Linked DNA regions of Homo sapiens: all the other regions are linked to region 3. The links are contacts of gene promoters, found by promoter capture Hi-C in blood cells and fetal thymus (Javierre and others, 2016). All regions are on one chromosome and are shown on one strand. Each heading gives the region's core, a stretch centred on a gene start or on the middle of the fragment in contact. The rest is flanking DNA. Distances are from core to core; before and after follow the strand shown. Region 1 has its middle 4.6 kb from the start of DOCK8-AS2. Region 2 holds the start of KANK1 (KN motif and ankyrin repeat domains 1). Region 3 holds the start of DOCK8 (dedicator of cytokinesis 8).

Region 1 (2,700 bases), core at 83-2,582, 260 kb before region 3:
TCACAGTGAGGCCAGGAGTTCAAGACTAGCTTGGTCAATGTGGCGAAAACTTGTCTCTGTTAAAAATACAAAAATTAGCCGGGTGTGGTGGCAGGCACCTGTAATCCCAGCTACTCGGGAGGCTGAGGTAGGAGAATGGCTTGAACCCAGGAGGCAGAGGTTGCAGTGAGCTGAGATGGCGACGCTACACTCCAGCCTGGGCAACAGAGTGAGACTCTGTTTCAAAAATAAATAAATAAATAAATAATTTTAAAAAGGTGCTAGACTCTTAATCTCTTCAGATGGGAGCGCCTGGAAGAAAAATATCTAGCTATGTTAACAGAGATTCTTTACAGATGCAAATTTTCCCCTACAAAGGATGGCTTTGCAGGGCCATTTCAAAATATGCCAAAGAGACATGTTATGGGATAAAATATTTTGATTTTGTCATGTAATATTATGCCAGAGTCAGACTAAAAAGTCACAATATATAGGGTTAAATAAAACCCATCTGATGAGAATTTTTGGTTTGTAGGGCATAACTCCCCAGACCCCCTAGATAGGAATTTGGAAGATAAGAAAAGATCAGAGCTTAGTCCTCAAGCAGGAGTGAAAATTTATTAAAAAGCTTCAGAGCAGGAATGAAAGGAAGTAGAGTATATTTGGAAGAGGGCCGAGTGGGCACCTTGTGAGATCAAGTGCACAGTTTGACCTTTGACTTGCGGTCTTACAGGTTGGCATACTTTCGGGGTCTTGGGTTACTTCTCCCAATTCTTCCCTTGGGGTGGGCTGTCCATATGTGCAGTGGCCTGCTAGCATTTGGGAGGGGAGCATGCACAGTGTATTTGCTGGAATGGTACAGATGCTTTCTTGAGGCTTTCTTCCCTTACCAGCGTAGCATTCCTACAGGAAGGTCATTTACCAATTAAACTCCGCCACTTTGCCTCTTAGTGCACATGCTTGAGCCCACCTGCCCAATTCCTGAGATCTTATTGTGAAGCTGCTGATTGTCACTTTCAGGTTTTTCCTATCTATTTGGAGACTGCCTTTCCCTGGTGCTGGCTGCAACCAGTTATTATTTGAGAGAGACGGTGTAACAACCATGTGACCATCACCTGATGGTCACCTGACATTCCTGGTCAGGGTGGGGGGCCCTCTCCTGCACTGCACATGTCTGCCTATCTACTGTAACAAGTACACCATCAGATGATTGCTAAGGTTTCTCCCAGTGTGAGGAGTCCTGAGAAAATGGTATTCTCAGAGATACTGAAGTGTCCTCAGGGAAAGTCTAGATGGCCTAGACAGCTTGTGGTGCTCCATTGTCACCCTGCCACCAATGTCTCCCTGCCTTTTCTCATCCTCTGATCTCCCCCTGCTCAACCCCATTTCAGGGGAGGAGGGAAGAAATATAGAAAAGATAATGAGGGAAAGTGGCCATGGGTAGTGAGAGGATGATGAAGTGGTAGATAATGGGAGAGTGGAGGGAAGGCATAGAAATTACACACATATACTTTTTTAGAGAAACGACACAGGGAAAAGATAGGGGGCATCAAAGAAAGAACATTTGCCTTCTTTTGTTCATCAAATAAAATAATCGCTGACATTTATTGAGCCCTTGTCCTAGGCCTGGCACCTTGTTCAGTTTTTCACATGCATCATTTCATTTAGCCCTCATACATCTCATTTTATAGATAAGTGAGAAACATACTTATGCAATTAATCAATATGTCCAATATCACTAATTAGTAAGAGACAGGACAAGGCATTGAACTTCAGCATCTTTGACCCCTGAGCTTGTACTTATAAATACTAGTCCATATGGCTTTCCTACCAGCATTTCCTCTGAGCCAGGGAATGTCACTATTTTCCTTATGGCCAACAGCATTTAGACTCAATGTCATTGCTGACCTACAGTGATGTGTTCATCACCATGGGCAGACAGATAGGCAGGTACCTATCCATACACTCACTCACCCACTGATGACACTCAGGAAGGCTTGGTAAAGACAAGTAAAGCCAATGAATATTATAAATAGATAGTATTTCTTGTGAGGAGCCATCATGTGGGGAAAGCTTCTTCATTAACTCTGGCTGAGTCTAATGTTGAAATTAATTCTTGGCTGGCACACTGGCTCACACCTATAATCCCAGAACTTTGGGAGGCCGAGGTGGGCAGATCACAAGGTCAAGAGATCGAGACCATCCTGGCCAACATGGTGAAACCCTGTCTCTACTAAAAATACAAAAATTAGCTAGGTGTGGTGGCACATGCCTGCAGTCCCAGCTACTCAGGAGGCTGAGGCAGGAGAATCACTTGAACCATGGAGGCAGAGGTTGCAGTGAGCTGAGATTGTGCCACTGCATTCCACCCTGGTGACAGAGAGAGACTCTGTCTCAAAAAAAAAAAAAAAATTCTTGTTCTTTCTGGGTGCAAGATAGTTCCTGAACACATACCCAGATGATCACAGGTGCCTGTGGTTTGTTGGGGGATGATATACACTAAAATAAGTGGTGAATACCCATAGCTAACCATAGCAAATTTTCTCAGTATTATACCTATCAGAAAACCCAAGTAAGCCTCATTGTAGGATAACTCTAGGTGACCCTCTAGGGATTATGGTTGATGATCACAGAGCTGTGATGTCATGATGTCCCATTAGGGGTCTTTCACCTGGTTATCATTTCTCTGCCTGATACTTCAACTGCAAATTTATGAGGAAA
Region 2 (2,700 bases), core at 146-2,645, 290 kb before region 3:
CCAGCCCGAGGCAGGGGTAGGGGCCTCGCGCTCCGGGACAACCTCGCCGCGGCACGGGGCGCGGCACGGCCCCGCCGCGTCACTCACCTTCGGCCGCTCCTCCCAACCTGCCGGCCGCTCGCTCGCTCCGCCGCGGACCCGGAGCTCGGGGAAGGGCGGGGCGCAGGGGGCGGAGTCGGCCCCGGCTGGCAAGCGCCAGAATTAAAGCCCGAACCGCACGGCCGCCGCCGGGGCGGGGAAGCCGGGGCGGACCAGCAAGCCTCTCACCCGCGGTGGGCGACAGCTGTGGCTGCGCCCCGGAGCGGCGCGTGAGAAGAACGGCGCGGGCCGGCGAAGCCCCGGCTGCTCCCTCCGCCCAGAGGACGCCCGGCTCCCCGCGGGGGCGCTCTTTGTACCGCGGAGCCGGCCGCGGGCGGCCCTCAGTGCGCCTGCGCGCCGCTGCAACTCCACCAGGCCCGCGGGGCACCTTCGTGCACCTTCGTCGCCGCGCCTGGCCCGCGGGCCTCGCCGCGGCGAGAACTAAGCAGAAGAACTTCCTCCACCGCGGTTCGCTCCTTCTGCCAACCCGTATTTACCACGTCCATCCTCGCACACACACCCGCAAGGGGAGAAGAAATCCAGCCCCCGTGAGACGGTGCGGTGCTCCCATCTCCGGCTGGGGCGGGGGTTCTGGCAACGAGGCTGGCCTGCTCGACGTCCTCCCCCAGCGCCTCTGTACCTCCTCTCCCTCCCCGGGTGAGGGGGACCGGAGCGTGCAGAGCTCTGTTTCCTGCAGGTGCCTCGTCAGCACGGTCGCCCCGGCGGCCAGAAACCTCCCGCCTCCAAGGGCACCTCCCTTGTGACCTCCGTGCATTCGCCCTGGCTCGGCTGCAGGACAGAGTCCTCGGCGGAAAGGGGAGGATGCGTGTTCAGAAGGTTGCAGGTCTCTGGGGACTCCACAGAAGACCCAACGCCTGCCTCGGGGGCTCAGGATTGAACTGGCTTCCTAGTTCAGTCCCAAATACTCGATTTGGAGCAATCCAGTAGGTCCATGAGAAATTAGTAGGGATTGAGAAGCTGTGACTTCAGTCTTTTTCAAATTGAAGGTGGCTTGAACAAACAGAAGAGGAGCTTGGGAACTGAAGGGACGACTTTATAAAAACCAGGTATTACTCAAAAAACAATGTTAGCTCTGCAGTCAACTGATTTTCTTAAGGGAGAGAGTCCTCCCCTCACCCCCAAGCTCTCTAGCACCGCACACATCCAGCAGGGCGTTACACACGCTCAGTCTTTTTTGTGAGTGTGCAAGTGAAGAGCCATCAAACTTCACAAGGCGACATGCTTGCCTCTGGGGAGAAGACGCTGCTTTTCCACAGTTCACAGCGAAGCACACCTGCAAATTCCTGAACTTGATGGCTCCTGACTGTTTAGGGAATAGGCAAAGGGCAGCCGGAAGATATGTGAAGGCAGGAAAGCTCATTTTGAATCTCAGCGCCTTTGCCAGCTCACTGGGTGGCAGTAAGCAAACTCTTTCCTCCTCCTGGGCCTTGCTTTTTCGTCTGTAGAGTAGGGCATTTGGATGCAGTAGATATTTTCTAAAATCCCCCACCACCACCACCCCGCCCCAAATGTCTACTCTTCTATGAAAAGGAGAATTGTTTGCATGGTGATAAGGGATGAGATATCAGAGGCAGGAAGACTCCTGCATTTTAAAAGTGCTCGTCGGCCAGGCGCAGTGGCTCAGGCCTATAATCCTCACACTTTGGGAGGCCGAGACAGGTAGATCAGTTGACCCCAGGAGTTCTGGGCAATACAGTGAAATTCTGTTTTCACCAAAAAAAAAAAAAAAAAAAAAAAAAAATCAGCTGGGCGCGATGGCGCGCGCCTGTAGTCCCAGCTACTCTGGAGGCTAAGGTAGGAGGATCGCCTGAGCCCTGGAGGTCGAGGCGGCAGTGAGCAGAGATTGAGCCACTGCATTCTAGTCCAGGCTACAGAGTGTGACCCTGTCTCAAAAATAAATAAATAAATAGTGCCCTCGACCGGGTGCACTGGCTCACACCTATAATCCCAGCACTTTGTGAGGCCGAGATGGGTGGATCACTTGAGGCCAGGAGTTCAACACCGGCCTGGCCAACATGGTGAAACCCCATGTCTACTAAAAAATACAAAAAAATTCGCTGGGCGTGGTGACGTGCACCTGTAATCCCAGCTACTCGGGAGGCTGAGGCAGGAGAATCCTTGAACCCGGGAAGCTGAGGTTGCAGTGAGCCGAGATCATGCCACTGCACTTTGGCCTGGGCGACAGAGCACGACTCTAAGAAAAAAAAAAAAAAAGTGCTCTCCATCCCCAGAATTCCCAGCCTTCACCTCTCCTTTATTTCTCCCTCTTTGCATTTAGTCAGTAAACATTGATAGGCCCTCAAGAGTAAGCAAAACGAATCAATCAAAAGTATGGCAGATTCTGAATTTTTAGTGGATTTATACTTGAAATTTCATTTTTAATTTAGTTATTTTATTGACATACAATTCACATGCCATACAATTTACTCCCAAAATGTATAATTCAGTGGTTTTGAATATATTCCCAAAGTCACACAACCATCACCACTAATTCCAGACATTGACATCCCAGTAAGAAACCCCATACCCATTAGTCACTCCCCATTCCTCCCTACTCCCAGCCGCTGGCTACCACTAATTTACTTTCTGTCTCTATGGATT
Region 3 (2,784 bases), core at 1-2,500:
GGAAATAAAATCGTCAATAAAGCTCGATATGCCCTCTAGAAGACCTTATCGCCTTGTTTTTCTAGGCTTTTAATTCCTTGTTCAAACCTCTTCACACACTAACAGCACAAAGATGAACCTACGGTGGAATCCACCTTTCACAGGCTCAGCTAAGTGAAGATTAACAAATCGGACAGCCCTGTGGGCAATAGAATAAGTTGACACTTTAGAATGAGTTTCCTATTATCTTTTAACTAGACAGTCTAGCTTTCTCAGGGCAAGACAAAAATGTCCCAATTACTTGTCAGCAGTTTTTAGTGGAGGAAAAACTGCAGTTAAAGCACCTTTACTGAGAACTTTGAGCAGTAAATGTGCTTACATATTTAGTTTGTGCAACTTTGATTAGGAATTGGATGGTGAGTTGGGATCCCCCAGTCCTTAGCTTTTTGCTGGAGTTCTGTAAATCTCAAAATGTCAGCCACAGGCCATTTCTTTTGGTTTATTTAAGTGTAGATTTTTTAAAAAATCACTTTTTCCACTTCATGGCTCCTTTGGACCAGGGTATAAAAATAGCGATGCCACCAGGAGCCAAGCTCTTTCTGGAATAATGAAGCAGGCGAGGACGGAGCCTTGCTCAGGACGACAGAAGGCTTGCAGCCTGCCTCAAACGCAACTCTAATTTCAGCCACTTCACTTCTTCCCCCCGCGCTCAGACTTGCCTCAAAGGAAGGAGCCGTTTATGAGACACTCCGTGGCGCGCCCAACACGGTTACCCAGGCGCCTATCACCCTTCTGGGACCCGGCCACCTGTAAGAACCTGGAGGGCGGAGCGGGCGAGGTTGTTCGGGGAAGGGATCCCCGGCGGCTGAGGACATCCAGGAGCACCGAGATTCTTGGGGAGGACCTCGCCGGGCCCAGCGCAGGAGCCGCCGCGCGTCCAGCGGCTCCACCGCCGCAGCCTCGGGAACCGGGCGCCCCAGGTCTCAGGCGCGCCCCGCCGCGGACGCGAATGGACTCGTCCGGCCTCGGCCCCTGCAGCGAAGCTCCGCTTCACACCAGCGCTGGGCTGTCCGGCCGCAACCTGCGCGCCGCGGGGGGCGTCTTACCTGTTGATCTTGAGCGCGAACGCGCGGCGCTCTGCGCTCGGCAGAGTGGCCATGGCCCGCCGGCGGTTCGGTGGCTTCTAGGGTCGCGGGGTGCGGAAAGCGGGGGCCTGGCGCGCCGCAGAGTAGCCGCGGAACATGCCCAGCCAAGCGCAAACCTCGTCTGTCGGTCGGCGCTGGAAACTTCCGCATTTCCACCTTCTAAGCCGAAATCACCCCGGGGGAGGGTCCGAGCTCGGAGCAGCGACGGCCGGCTCCGCCACCCGGCCTGGCGCGCAGGCAGCGGCGGGCGAGGAGGGCGTGGGCCCAGCGCGGAACTGGCCTCCCGATACTGGGGCAGACGGCGCGCTCTGCCCGGGGCCGCCGACCTCCGGCCGAAGGGAGCGCGGGCGGACGACAGGCGACCACTGCGCGCAGGCCGGAAGCTCCATCTGCCCGAAGCTGCGAGGCTGCCAGGGAATGTAGGCAAGTCGGGGGAGCCCCACAAAGCTGGCGAGGTCGGGAATCACCCCAGGGATTCGTAAGGCTAGGTGTTATTAAGGGTTGACACCATTCTCGAAGAAGGCAGCCAAAAAAAAAGACAAAAAAGTTAGTGGAATCTATCAGGATTCAAATCAACTTTTGCAAGCAATATGCCCATCATCCTTCCTGAGACACTAAATAAATATAATGGATTCATCCAAGGAATAAACATTATGAGTTCTCAAAAAATGTTTTCGTCACAACCTGGCGTGAATGCTTTTCTCCGGAGAAACACTGAAGGCGGCGTTCTTGCGATTCAAGGGTACGCTGCGTCCAGGTTTATTTCAGTTTCAGACTGAGGTCTGCTAAGAAGCCCGGCCTCAAACTCAAGATAAAAACAGAAAAGTCCCAGTGTTGACGGGAGTGGAGGAGCCCGTGTTCGCTTCAAGGTGCCGGCGTGCTGCTCTAACCTGTGCTATATATACTCGAGCACTCTCCATATAATGCCTCCATTTACCAACTTGCTCTTAAAAAATACCAAAGCAGGCCGGGCGCGGTGGCTCACGCCTGTGATCCCAGCACTTTGGGAGGCCGAGGCGGGCGCATCACGAGGTCAGGAGATCGAGACCATCCTGGCCAACGTGGTGAAACCCCGTCTCTACTAAAATACAAAAAATTAGCCGGGCGTGGTGGCGCACGCCTTAGTCCCAGCTACTTGGGAGGCTGAGGCAGGGGAATCACTTGAACCCGGGAGGCGGAGCTTGCAGTGAACCGAGATCTGCCACTGCACTCCAGCCTGGCGACAGAGCAAGTCTCCGTCTAAAAGAAAAAAAAAAAAACAACCAAAGCGAAGTATTTTTGGTTCAAACCTGCACTATTTAATATGATAGCCACTAGCCACATGTGGCTATTGACCACTCGGCATTATGGTTAGTCTGAATTGCCCACTGCTGGATGTGTAAAATGTACACTGGAATTTAAAGACAGCGCAGAAAACATCGTGTAAAATGTCTTGTTAATGATTTTCATGTTGATTGCATGTTAAATGATACTTTGGATATAAAAAATATATTATTAAAGTTAATTTCACCTGTTTGTTTTCCCCTTTTAAAAATGTGGTTTGCATTTTTAAAAATGTAAAATTACACATGTGGCTCACATTTGTGAGCCTCATTATATTCCTATTGGACAGTGCCAGTCCAATACAACCTAATTTGTCACCTAATACTAAAATCCACCT

The links. Contacts are between HindIII fragments. The CHiCAGO score rates a contact against its expected background, and 5 or more counts as called.
Region 1: a fragment that was not itself captured here is called in contact with the fragment with the promoter of DOCK8 in region 3 in 1 of 17 cell types (neutrophils); the score reaches 10.6 in neutrophils.
Region 2: a contact is called between a fragment that was not itself captured here and the fragment with the promoter of DOCK8 in region 3, in 2 of 17 cell types (neutrophils and erythroblasts). The highest score is 7.2, in neutrophils.

Annotation. Positions count from the first base shown.
Region 1 is chr9:473,394-476,093 of GRCh38, reverse strand. It overlaps a transcript of KANK1 not described here. Among named protein-coding and RNA genes, the nearest start is that of DOCK8-AS2, 4.6 kb to the right of the region's middle. The HindIII fragment of the contact is 1,445 bases long and covers 610-2,054 here.
Region 2 is chr9:502,142-504,841 of GRCh38, reverse strand. KANK1 (KN motif and ankyrin repeat domains 1) reads right to left here and starts at 147. Exons shown (of 12, transcript NM_015158.5): 1 at 88-147. LOC105375947 (translation initiation factor IF-2-like) reads left to right here. Exons shown (of 4, transcript XM_047424276.1): 3 at 21-1,145. The coding sequence ends at 842. RefSeq lists a silencer at 22-511. The HindIII fragment of the contact is 4,681 bases long and covers 1-2,700 here.
Region 3 is chr9:213,331-216,114 of GRCh38, reverse strand. DOCK8 (dedicator of cytokinesis 8) reads right to left here and starts at 1,250. Exons shown (of 48, transcript NM_203447.4): 1 at 1,086-1,250. The coding sequence starts at 1,138. DOCK8-AS1 (DOCK8 antisense RNA 1) reads left to right here and starts at 365. Exons shown (of 1, transcript NR_160804.1): 1 at 365-2,658. RefSeq lists silencers at 776-915, 1,086-1,135, 1,186-1,235, 1,246-1,495. The HindIII fragment of the contact is 3,855 bases long and covers 1-2,784 here.